Linked DNA regions of Homo sapiens: regions 1, 2 and 4 are each linked to region 3. The links are contacts of gene promoters, found by promoter capture Hi-C in blood cells and fetal thymus (Javierre and others, 2016). All regions are on one chromosome and are shown on one strand. Each heading gives the region's core, a stretch centred on a gene start or on the middle of the fragment in contact. The rest is flanking DNA. Distances are from core to core; before and after follow the strand shown.

The links. Contacts are between HindIII fragments. The CHiCAGO score rates a contact against its expected background, and 5 or more counts as called.
Region 1: a contact is called between a fragment that was not itself captured here and the fragment with the promoter of POP5 in region 3, in 9 of 17 cell types (total B cells, naive B cells, fetal thymus and 6 more). The highest score is 11.7, in total B cells.
Region 2: a fragment that was not itself captured here is called in contact with the fragment with the promoter of POP5 in region 3 in 2 of 17 cell types (total B cells and naive B cells); the score reaches 8.3 in total B cells.
Region 4: a contact is called between a fragment that was not itself captured here and the fragment with the promoter of POP5 in region 3, in 2 of 17 cell types (naive B cells and total B cells). The highest score is 5.5, in naive B cells.

Annotation. Positions count from the first base shown.
Region 1 is chr12:121,112,197-121,115,335 of GRCh38, reverse strand. All of the region lies in intron 1 of LOC105370030 (a long non-coding RNA gene), which reads right to left. Among named protein-coding and RNA genes, the nearest start is that of P2RX7, 19 kb to the left of the region's middle. The HindIII fragment of the contact is 2,011 bases long and covers 543-2,553 here.
Region 2 is chr12:121,211,126-121,214,116 of GRCh38, reverse strand. All of the region lies in intron 1 of P2RX4 (purinergic receptor P2X 4), which reads right to left. Among named protein-coding and RNA genes, the nearest start is that of P2RX4, 2.5 kb to the right of the region's middle. The HindIII fragment of the contact is 3,683 bases long and covers 1-2,991 here.
Region 3 is chr12:120,579,675-120,582,660 of GRCh38, reverse strand. POP5 (POP5 ribonuclease P/MRP subunit) reads left to right here and starts at 1,259. Exons shown (of 5, transcript NM_015918.4): 1 at 1,259-1,318; 2 at 1,404-1,546; 3 at 2,738-2,887. The coding sequence starts at 1,299. The HindIII fragment of the contact is 2,825 bases long and covers 1,233-2,986 here.
Region 4 is chr12:121,232,586-121,235,961 of GRCh38, reverse strand. It overlaps P2RX4 (purinergic receptor P2X 4), which reads right to left. Exons shown (of 12, transcript NM_002560.3): 10 at 3,286-3,351; 11 at 2,870-2,965; 12 at 1,856-2,439. The coding sequence ends at 2,413. Among named protein-coding and RNA genes, the nearest start is that of P2RX4, 24 kb to the right of the region's middle. RefSeq lists an enhancer at 1,593-2,220. The HindIII fragment of the contact is 6,150 bases long and covers 1-3,376 here.

The sequences.
Region 1 (3,139 bases), core at 299-2,798, 530 kb before region 3:
TGGACAACTTGCTTAGCATCTCTGGGCCTTGATTTCTTCATCTGTAAAGTGAACATTGGTGGCATTTTGCCCATATAGTTGTTGCGAGAATAACCAAGATAAAATGACCCCTTACTATGTGCTATTTACAAATGTTAGCTGTAATTATGCTTTTGCTTTCCAATTTAACTAGCCAGGTAGGTAGGTAAGTAGGGGGAGAGAGAGAGGGAGAGAAGGAGGAAACAGCAAAAATAAAAGCATTTTTTTCTCTGATAATTTGAGGAAAATATACTTGTCTAGACCAGTGGTTCTCAACTAGGGATGACTGTGTGCCCCAGGGACGTTTGGCAATGTCTGGAGACATCTTAGTTGTCACGACTGAGGGAGTGCTACTGGCATCTGCAGCCAGGGGTGCTGCTAATCTATAGGACAACCCCTGTGACAAAGAAATACCTGGTTCCAATGTGCACAGTAGCCAGGCATGGTGGCTCACACCTGTAATCCCAGCACTTTAGGAGGCTGAGACAGGAGGATAGCTTGAGCTCAGGAGTTCAAGACAAGCTTAAGCAATACAGGGAGACCCTATCTCTACAAAAAATACAAAAAAATTAGCCAGGCATGGTGGCGTGTGCCTGTAATCGCAGCTACTTAAGAGGCTGAGGTGGGAGGATTGCTTCAGCCCAGGAGGTTGAGGCTGCAGTGAGCTGTGATTGTGCCACTGTACTCCAGCCTGGGCCACAGAGTGAAACCCTGTCTCAAAAACAGCAACAACAACAACAAAAAACAAAAGTGTCCCCAGTGCCTAGGCTGAGGAATCCTGGTCTATCATACATTGACATCTCTGATATTAAGGGCCACAGTGCAAGGTACAGTGTCTGGCACATAGTAGGTGCTCAATGAATGTTTGACAACCACATGAATGAATGAATCAATCAATCACAGAATGGATGAATCATCGAATGAATGAATGATTATATAGTTCATTTGTCATTTGGCTGAGTGCCTGGGACAGGGCTGCATCCGAGCAGCTGTTCATTAAATAGGTATGGACAGGTTCCTGTAAATGTTCCCTTCTGAAGCAGCTGGGGAGTGAGGTCCTGGCGGGGGAACACCCGGCCTCACAGCTGTGGTTCCAGGTCATGATAAATTGCTGTGGGAAGCCACAGAGCAGACAGCTCATCACACATTGTAATGGATTCATTGTCTTCTCTCGTGGCCCCCTTTATCTCAAACTCTCAGCAGACAAGGGTTAAAAGGGAGTGAGCTGAGTGAGGGCCTGTGGATGCTGCTCTTCAGGAAAAGGAGGGAAAATGAGCCCAGACAGGATCATCGTTAACCGGCTCCAAGGTCAAGAGCCGGGTTAGAACGTTAGAATTAGAGATGGGGGCAGGGATGGCGGCGGGACTCTCTCCATCACCACACCCTATCTAATTCATTTATTCAACAAATATTTATTGAGTACCAGAGACTCTTTGGGCATATGTGAGTTAACAAAACAGATGAAATCCTTACCCTGTTGGAATTTATATTTTAAAGAAGCAGGATGAACAATGGACACATAGGCCGGACATACCATGTGTGAGGGGCCCTGTGCATTAGGAGAAAAATCAGGTAGGGAGGGAAGATAAGGCATGTTTGGGGCTGAGTTTTTCCATTGAGGTGAAATTCAAATAACATGAAATTAATCATTTAAAAGTGAACAATTGGCCAGCGCGGTGGCTCAGGCCTGTGATCCCAGCACTTTGGGAGGCTGAGGCGGGAGGATTGCTTGATCCCAGGAGTTAGAGACCAACCTAGGCAACACGACAAGACTCCATCTCTGTTTTTTTTTAAGTGAACAATTGAGTGGCATTTAGTTCATTCACAGTGTTATGTAACCACTATTTCTGTCTAGTTCCAGAACATTCTCATCACCCCAAAAGGAAACCCCGTACCCATTTGGCCATTCCTCCTCCTCCAGCCCCTGGTAACCGTTGCTTTTCTTTCTCTGTGTGGGTTTGTCTGTTTTTGGATATTTCACATAAATGGCATCATACACTATGTGGCCTTTTGTGACTAGCTCCTTTCACAAGAATCTCACCTTGTTTTCAAGGTTCATTCATGTGGTAGCATGTGCCTTTCATTCTTTTTTATGGCTGAGTAAAATTGAATCACATGGATAGACCACATTTTGTTAATCCATTCGTCTGTTTAGGGACATCTGGGTTGTCTCCATCTTTGGCTACTGTGAATAGTGCTGTTGTGAACATTTAGGTTACAAGTATCTGTTTGAGGCCAGGCATGGTGGCTCACGCCAGCAGTCCTAGCACTTTGGGAGGCCGAGGCGGGTGGATCACTCGAGATCAGGAGTTCGAGACCAGCCTGGCCAACACGGTGAAACCCCATCTCTACTAAAAATAAAAAATAAAAATAAAAATGGTATCTGCTTGAGTCCCCATTTTCAATTCTTTGGGGTAAAAACCTAAAAGTGGAACTGCTGGGTATATGGTAATTCTATGTTTAACTTTTTTAGGAATGGCCAGTTTCCCACAGCAGCAGCACCATTTTACACTCCTATCAGTAATATACAAAGCTTCCAATTTCTTCATCTCCTCACCAATACTTGTTATTTTCCATTTTTAAAATAACAGTCATCCTAGTGATAGGAAGTCGTGTGTCCTGTGGTTTTGATCTGTGTTTCCCTAATACATATCATTACGTGGTGAGCATCTTTTCATGTGCCCATTGGCCGTGTATATATATCTTCTTAGATAGTCCTTTGCTCACTTTTGACGTTGGTCATTTGTCTTTTTGTTACTGAGTTAAAAGCATGGAGCTAACTTATTTTTATTTATTTTTATTTTTTTATGTTTTTTGAGACAGAGTCTCATTCTGTCGCCCAGGCTGGAGTGCAGTGGCGCAATCTCGGCTCACTGCAACCTCCGCCTCCCAGGTTCAAGTGATTCTCCTGCCTCAGCCTCTCAAAGTGCTAGGATTACAGGTGTGAGCCATGACGCCCAGCCTGAACTTTTAAATAGGGTGATCAGAAAAGACCTCCCTAAGATGATGACTTTTTTTTTTTTTTTTTTTTTAAGATGGAGTCTCACACTGTTGCCCAGGCTGGAGTGCAGTGGCGCGATCTCGGCTCACTGCAAGCTCCGCCTTCCGGGTTCACGCCATT
Region 2 (2,991 bases), core at 99-2,598, 630 kb before region 3:
AATCCTCCCACCTCAGCCTCCCAAGTAGCTGGGTCCACAGGTGTGCGCCACTATGCCAAGCTAATTTTTCGTATTTTTGGTAGAGATGGGGTTTCACTACGTTGCCCAGGCTGGTCTCAAAATTCCTAAGCTCAAGGGATCCACTTGCCTCAGCCTCCCAAAGTATTGGGATTACAGGCGTGAGCTACCACAGGGCAAGACCCTGTAATTTAAAAGTTTCTAGTAGCCATGTCAAAAAGTAAAAAGAAATAGAAAGGGCTGGGCACGGTGGCTCATGCCTGTAATCCCAGCACTTTGGGAGGCCGAGGCAGACAGATTGCTAGAGCTCAGGAGTTCGAGACCAGCCTGGGCAACATGGAAACCTCATGATTGTAGAGATGAGATTTCTCATCTGTACAAACAAACAAACAAAAACACAATAATTAGCCAGTCATGGTGGTGTGCACCTGTAGTCCCATAATTCCAGAGGCTGAGATGGTAGAATCACTTGAGCCTGGGAGGCAGAGGTTGCAGTGCATTGCACTCCAGTCTGGGTGACAAAGCAAGGCGCCGTTTAAAAAGAAAAAAAGAAAAAAGAGACAGGAAAAATTAATTGTAATGATATATTCTGTGTAACCCAATATATCCAAAATATTTTAACATGTCATCAATAAAAAATGTTTTCATGTGATAGTGGTACTCTTTGTTTTTTTGAGACAGTGTCTTGCTCTGTTGCCCAGGCTGGAGGGTGGTGTGATCACAGCTCTCTGTGGCCTCAACCTCCCAGGTTCAAGCAGTCCTTCTGCCTCAACCTCCCAAATAGGTAGGCCTATAGGCGTGTGCCACCATGCCAGGCTAATTTTTGTATTTTTTTGTAGAGGCAAGGTCTCGCTATGTTGCCCAGGTTTGTCTCAAACTCTTGAGCTCAAGCGATCTTCCCACCTCAGCCTCCCAAAGTACTGTGATTTCAGGCATGAGCCACTGTGCCCAGCCTCTTTTTCTGTACTATGTCTTTGAAATCCAGTGTGTATTTTAAGGTTATAGCACATCTCAGTGTAGAGTAGGAACGGTTAAGTGTTCAACAGGTGCAAGTTACTAGTGGCTACCATACAGTGCAACACCACTATGGATATTTTCCGCAGTTGTAATTTTACAGGTACCCTAAGGTAGATGTGCACTGATCCTCCCACTAGCAGCAAACGCCAAAAGCAAAAAGCTGCAGGGGAGCTCCTGCCCCCAAATGCTTCAGGTCCAACCAGGGATGTGAGTTCAGTTAACTGGCTAGCAGTGAGTCTCCAAAAAAAAAAAAAAAATATATATATATATATATATATATATATATATATTTGAGATGGAGTTTTGCTCTTGTTGCCCAGGCTGGAGTGCAGTGGCGCAATCTGGGCTCACTGCAACCTCCGCCTCCTGGATTCAAACGATTCTCCTGCCTCAGCCTCCCATGTAGCCGGGATTACAGGCATTAGCCACTAGGCCTGGCTAATTTTTTGTACTTTTAGTAGAGACGGGGTTTTACCATGTTGGCCAGGCTGGTCTCGAACTCCTGACCTCAGGTGATCCACCCGCCTCGGCCTCCCAAAGTGCTGAGATTATAGGCATGAGCCACCGTGTTCAGAAAAAAAAAAAAAAAAAATTCTTTTTTTTGCACTGCTCCATCAGTACAATTTACCATTTTAAACTTTATTTTTCTCTTAGAGATGGGGTCTCGCTATGTTGTCCAGGCTGGTCTTGTGTCCAGGCTGGTCTTGAGCTCCTGGCCTCAAGCAATCCTCCCACCTTGGCTTCCCAAAGCACTGGGACTACAGGTGTGAGCCAATGAGTCCAAATCTGGGTGTGGGCCAGGTGGTTCTGATGTTGAGTCTGCACCTGGAAAGCCATCCTCTTGAATACTGTCTGTATCTACTGCTGCTGCTGACAGATATTGGAAGCCAAACCTGCTTGGGCTTCCCTTGGGCAGTGTTAAGATTCCAAACCTCACCCCAAAGACGGGGGGATCTGTTACTTTTAAACAATTCCTCAGATGAGTCTTCCATGATCAGGTAAACTTGGGAAACACAGTTCATTGGTTCCGAAACGTTGCTGAACATGAGAATCACCTGGGCAGCCGATCATACTCTGCAGCAATTAAATCAGAAGGTCTGGGGATGCGTCTGGGCGCGGTGGCTCACGCCTGTAATCCCAGCACTCTGGGAGGCTGCGGCGGGTGGATCACCTGAGGCCAGGAGTTCGAGACCAGCCTGGCCAACATGGCGAAACCCTGTCCCTACTAAAAATACAAAAATTAGCCGGGCATGGTGGTGGGTGCCTGTAATCCCAGCTACTCAGGAGGCTGAGGCAGGAGAATCGCTTGAACCAGGGAGGTGGAGGTTGCAGCGAGCCAAGATTGCACCACTGCACTCCAGCCTGGGCGACAGAGGGAGACTCCATCAAAAAAATAAAAAAGGGTCTGGGGATGGGAGCCAAAGATTTCCAGATGGTTCCAATGTGCAGTTTGGAGACCACTGCACTAGGCAATACGTGTCAGCCCAGCAGCTGTAGACACCAGAACACCCCAGGTAAGCCTTTAAAGTGGCCCCAGGTGGCAAGGTAATTATCATCTTCTCTCTCGCGTTGTATTCAATTGTAACAGGTGCCAGCCCCGCGTGGGGGCTCACGCCTGTAATCCCAGCATTTTGGGAGGCTGAGGTGGGCGGATCACCTGAGGTCAGTTCAGGACCAGCCTGAAACCCCGTCTCTACTAAAAAATACAAAAATTGGCCGGGCGTGGTGGCGGGCACTTGTAATCCCAGCCACTCAGGAGACTGAGACAGGAGAATTGCTTGAACCCGGGAGGCAGAGGTTGCAGTGAGCCGAGATCGTGCCATTGCACTCCAGCCCGGGCGACAAGAGAGAAATTCCGTCTCAAAAAAATAAAAAAATTAAAAAAGTAACAGGTGCCTTCAAGTACAATGGCACATTCAGCGAGGCCTGAGGGCGGTAGGGCATCTCTAGCCTAAG
Region 3 (2,986 bases), core at 10-2,509:
AAATTAATCTAGCAGGGTAGAAGTGGTAATAGTGGCTGATAGCAGTAAGCAATTTGACTGGAAGAGGGCTCAGGGAACCTTCTGGGATACTGGAAATGCTCTTTATTTTAATCTTGGAGGTGGTTATAGAAGTCTATCCATATGTAAAAATTCATTGAGATGAATACACTTAAGAATATGTACTTTATGTAATACCCCATAAGACATTTTTTTTAAAATACTTAAAAATAAAAGAAAAAACATAATTTAACAGAGGGCATAGTTCTCAAGCTGTTTTCTCTGTCTCAGGACCCCTTTACACACGTTACTGAGGGTGCCCAAGAGCTTTTAGTTTTGTGGGTTATATTTACTATGGACATTAAAGTTGAGAAACGTTTAAAAAACAATACACAATTCCTAGAGCAGTGACGTCATCACGTCAAGCAGCCTCTGGAAAACTTGACTGTTCACTCAGAGAGAATGAAAAAGACAAGTAACATCTTAGCATTATTATGAAAGTAATTTTGACTTCGGGGACTCCCAAATCGAGTGAATTTAGGAAATCTCAGTGGTCCCCAGACGGCACTTTGAGAACCACTGGCGCAGGGAGAAAATGACAGAAGAAAACACACTACACGACAACAGTTATTCTCTCTCAGTGCTGGGATTATAATTTATTTGCTTCTTTGTGCTTTTCTGTCAAAAAAAAAAGGTAAACGGAAATGGAAAATACAATGACCACGTATTGTTTCTGCGAGCAAAAAACGAGACGGCACACTCGCCTCCCTAAGATTGCTGAAAGGCCCAAACAGCAATAGCATATTTAGCTGTATGGAAGAATTAAACTGAGCTCAAACCTGAAAATAAAAGTCCGATTTCCCGTTTGTCAATGCCTGGGCTGTGAGGTGCAGGGTCTTGCCCTCAAAAGCTCCACCGTTCACCTTGGGGAGAGAATATACTCGCATACATAACTGTGGTGCAAGGTTCCCAGGGCCCCAAGGGTAGCGGCTACATCCTACACACTATTGTAAACTTCAGTGTGCAACAGAACCATCCATTACAGCTGCAAGGCGCTCCATCCCGGGGTTCAGCCCTCAAACTAGTCAGTGACCCTCCGCAGGACGCATGCGCGCTTACAAACGCAGTTGGGCGGGGCTTGAGAGAGCTGACAGACTTCGGCCTCTCAACTTTCTAGCTCCGCCCTAATATCCTGTCTCCTTCTCTGAATGGCTGAAAGGCTGCGGAAGCAAGCTTCCCATTGGCAGCGGACAGAATTCACATCCGGTTTGCACGCCGGACCGGAGAGCGCGGAGGCAGCCATGGTGCGGTTCAAGCACAGGTAAGCATTCCCTTCCAGACCCTCCCAGTGCCTTGCTGGGTCCTCGCGGCCCCGCTAGTGTCCACCTTCCTCTCGCCTGCCGCAGGTACCTGCTCTGCGAACTGGTGTCTGACGACCCCCGCTGCCGCCTAAGCCTCGATGACCGAGTTCTGAGCAGCCTCGTACGGGACACGATCGCCAGGGTGCACGGAACTTTCGGCGCAGCCGCCTGCTCCATCGGCTTCGCGGGTGCAAGGGCGCTGGGGGAAGAGGGGAACCCGGGAGGATGGCGGGATGTGGAGGGGGCAGGCGCCGGAGGAAGAAAGAAGGGGCACGAGTGGCCAAGCCCGTGCACCGTTTTTTGTAAGGTATCTCTTTAAGCGCCTGGGACCCCAAGCGAGAGTCCGAAATTAGCAGAGCGCTAAAAGGAGGGGCCCGAAGGCAGTGGGGCTTTGAGCTAGAAGCCTCTTTTTACCTGCTTGACAGGTAATTTCTGTAATTGGTTGTGATTGAATTTGATAGGGTAGAGAATTAAATGAGGGAAGCTGTGTATACTTCCTAGTAAGAGCTATTATATGACCGATTACATTAACATCATATGGAAAAAAATTGTCAAAAGTACTCCGGGAAAGCCCTTAAATAGTTGGTAAAGTACAGAACACATGATTGTCAATATATGTAAATACAGGATGAGCTAGGACAGAGGGGCCCTTCTTTCACACCACTTAAATTAGTTCCCACTTTAACCTTGTTTGAGATTGACTTCTGGAGAGTTAAATGCAGATAGACTTAACTCTCCTAAGTCAGGTGAGACTGAGAGCTGACTGCTACAATAATTACGGAGCCCAAATGCAGTAAAACAGCCTGTTTTTCAGGCAAGGGTTTTGTGGGGGTTTTTCCTAAATTAAAACGGATCGCCTCCTACCTGCTCCTATTTATTGAATTAACTAGTGAATTAGAAAGCATTTTCAATTCTAAATTCATTCACCAGTTCTGAGTGGTGTGCAACACAGTGGGTGTTTTGGCTTTTCTCTTTTACTCGCTGATAGATCTACGTGCCACTTGCCTACAACATACTTTTGGCACATAGTAGGCTCTGTTACTCCAAAGTTTTCCTTTTTTCGAGACAGTCTGGCTGTTGCCCAGGCTGCTGGAGTGCAGCAGCGAGATCGGGGGTCATTGCTGCCTCTGCCTCCTGGGTTCAGGCGATTCTCATGCCTCAGCCTCCTGAGTGGCTGGAATTACAGGTGCGCACCACCACACCCAGCTAATTTTTGTATTTTTAGTAGAGACGGGGTTTCATCATGTTGGCCAGGCTGGCCTCGAACTCCTGACTTAAAGTGATCTGCCCGCCTCAGCCTCCCAAAGTGCTGGGATTACAGGCGTGAGCCACCACACAGAGCAAAAGTTTTCCAAAATGATTTTTCTTTCCTGTTGTAGTTCGATATCTCAATGCCTATACTGGAATAGTGCTACTTCGATGCAGAAAAGAATTCTATCAGCTTGTGTGGTCAGCTCTTCCCTTCATCACATACTTGGAGAACAAAGGACACCGTTACCCATGCTTTTTCAACACATTACATGTGGGAGGTAGGAGTGAGGTGGTATGGCTACTGATTTTCAATTGGTGACACGTTCACAGTTCAGTCTAAACTGGTGGGTGGGTCTTGCTGCTGTCCCGCTAACAAG
Region 4 (3,376 bases), core at 54-2,553, 650 kb before region 3:
AGCGCAATCCTGACTCAGTCACCTCCCCAAGGCTTCACCTCCCAATAAGGTTGCCTTGGGGATGAAGTTTCCAAAATGTGAATTTTGGTAGACACATTCAGCCCATATCACCATTCCTAAACATTCCAGCTTCATTTGACCCATGTGCCTAAGCAAGCACTTTTTATTTTTTCAGACAGGGTCTCACTTTGGTGCCCAGGCTGGAGTACAGTGGCACCATCATAGCTCACTGCAGCCTCAACCTCCTGGGCTCAAGTGATCCTCCGGCCTCAGCCACCCAAGTAGCTGGGACTACAGATATATACCGCCACACCCGGCTAATTTAATTTTTTGTAGAGATAGGGTCTCACCATGTTGACTGGGCTGGTCTTGAATGCCTACGCTTAAGTGATCCACCTTGGCCTCCCAAAGTCCTGGGATTACAGGCAACAAGCATTTTTTTTTAAAAGGCAGCATGAACCAGAGCTTCAATAAAGGGAGTTGGTAAACTTTTTTTTTTTTTTCCAAAAGCAAGAAAAGCCCAGGTTGGCCATTTATCCAGCAGAAGCAGAGTATTTGTAAAATAATGGTTCCTCTCAGTACTTGGAAGTGAATTCATGGCAGAGGCGAAGGGCAAACTGCTTCCTCTAGGGGGATTCTGAATACCTGATGCAGAATTCAGCTGGTGTGTGGCTGGGTGCAGTGGCTCACGCCTGTAATCCCAGCACTTTGGGAGGCTGAGGCGGTGGATCATGAGGTCAGGAGTTCCAGACCAGCCTGGCCAACATGGTGAACCTCTGTCTCTACTAAAAATACAAAAATTAGCTGGGTGTGGTGGCAGATGCCTGTAATCCCAGCTACTTGGGAGGCTGAGGCAGGAGAATTGCTTGAACCCAGGAGGCAGAGGTTGCAGTGAGCCGAGATCATGCCACTGCACTCCAGCCTGGGCAATAGGGCAAGACTCTGTCTCAAAAACAAAAAAACACAAACATTTAGTTGGTGTGAAGCTGCAGCTGGAAATAGCTTCATGAACATTTCGAACCTGTGCGGAGCTAGGTATGCGTGCTGCTGCTTTTGGTTGGAGACTTTTGGGAAGCAAACAGGGAAGGGAGAGGAAGCCACTTCCATGTTACCAAAAATTGTGTTACCCACAGCATAGAATTGTAATTTTATGTCAAAATGGAGGCACAGGTAAGATGTCACTAGAGAAAAAGTGTCCTGTGAACTGTGCAGGAAGACAAGCTAATGACAAATTATTAGGCTTTAAAAAGTAGGCAGCTGGGTGCAGTGGCTCATGCTTGTAATCCCAGCACTATGGGAGGCTGAGGTAGGAGGATCGCTTAAGCCCAGGAGGTGGAGACTGCAGTGAGCAGTGATTGCGCCACTGCACTCCAGCCTGGGTAATAAAAAAAATAAATAGGCCAGGTGTGGTGGCGCACACCTGTAATCCAATCACTTTGAGAGGCTAAGGCAGATGGATCATTTGAGGTCAGGAGTTCGAGACCAGCCTGGCTGGCCAATGTGGTGAAACCCTGTCTCTACTAAAAATACAAAAATTAGCCGGGCATGGTGGCATGCACCTGTAATCCCAGCTACTCGGGAGGCTGAGGCAGGAGAATCGCTTGAACCCGGGAGGCAGAGGTTGCAATGAGCCGAGATTGCACCACTGCGCTCCAGCCTGGGCGACAGAGTGAGACTCTGCCTCAAAAATAAAATAAATAAATAAAGAAGTAGGGGAAAATGTGCATAAGTGCCAGAAACAGACCATCCCATGGACCTTTTCTGAGCACAGTGAGCCGGAATAGTGGATTTACTGGTTGTCGTAAAAGGGTAGGAAGGAAAGTTCTAGCACATGCTATGAGACAACAGACAGGGATTAAGAAAATCACGCTTTAATGTCTGGTCCTCGATCACCTTAGCACAGCGCTTCTCTGAGGAGAAATGCCAGCTCTGCCGCATGGCTGCAGGGAATGGTCGGGGGGAAGCCTGCAGCCCAGGCCTGCTACAAGTCTAGTGACTGCAGCCAGGCGGCCTCCCCTGCCGCATAAAGTGCTTGAACAGAGCCGCCGTGCCTCAGAGGACTGGGCCTGTCCTGGAGAGAGCTGGAGACAGGAGGCTTCTGAGCAAAGCCAGCTCCAGCCCTGAAAGCCACAGCAGTGCCACTGCGTCGGGCCAGCGCTCCCCCGACAACCCCAGGTTGCGGGAAAAGCAGAGTTGACCCAGCCAAGAACAGACTGCTGACCTCCTGGGCCGAGTGGGCAAACAGATCCTGCACACAACACACAGGAGCTGCTGGGGAACCCTGAGTGCTTGTGGAGTGGAGACTCAATCAGATTCCAGAAATTTCTCTGGGGTGATGTGGTGGCCATTTCTCCCTCCTCCTCCTCTCTGTTCTTTGATGGGGCTGTGGAGAGCCCAGGTGTGGGGTAGGCCTCACTGGTCCAGCTCACTAGCAAGACCCTGCAAAGAAGGACACAAGCAGATCAAGGTGCCCCTGGGACCCCTTGTGGCAGGCGGGAGGGAGGTGCGCTCCTGGGACTTCACCGCCAGGGGTTCTCAAGTTGGTCCCAGGCCTGGAACCCAACCCTTCCTGTTCCGCAAGGTGCACTGAAGTAGTGTGTGCCCACAGGCATTCTCAGAGCATGCATTATCATCACCAACCTGAGATGTCGCTCATTGAAACGAGGCTGGGTTTAAAGAGTCAATCTAGTACAGGGGCCTAGGGATGGAGCAGCTGCTGAGAGTGGCAGGACTGCCCGGGTTAACGGGGACACCACGCCACACTGGTGCCAGCCTCTGCAGAAGGGCCTCCCCAGACAGGCCCACGCCCAGGGCTCCCACACCCAAGAGATGAGAGGCCTGTGCCTGCTGGGGGCCAGGAGGGGCCTACCTGCTCGTAATCTTCCACATATTTATATTTCTTCTCCCGATAGTAGAGTCTTTTCTTCATGCAGTAGAGGACTATGATGTCACACAGCACGGTCGCCTGAGTTTAGCATAGGGTGAGAGTGAGCCAGGATGCTTGCAACCCATCAACCCATCTTATTCTTTGCGTGCCCCTTCCTGAGAAGCCTGGAATCTTTACCGGAATGGAAAGGCACTCCCATCTCTTGGGAGAAGGCTGGGACCTGAGGGGGGTGGTCTTGGAGAAGGGAAGGTGGGAGGAGGGCTGGGGGCCAAGGGAAAGAAGGTAGGAGGGTCAAGTTTAGAAACACATCTGAGGTCTAGGGCCTAGGGCCAGGACCAGGACCCCAGCCCAGGGTCTCACCTCACCGTGAGGGTGAAGGCAGGGCCTAAACCACTCACCATGCCTAGCAGTGCCAGGCCAGAGCCGATGTTGATCATAGTGGGGATGATGTCAAATTTCCCTGCCTGCCAAGACACCGAAAAAGAAAAA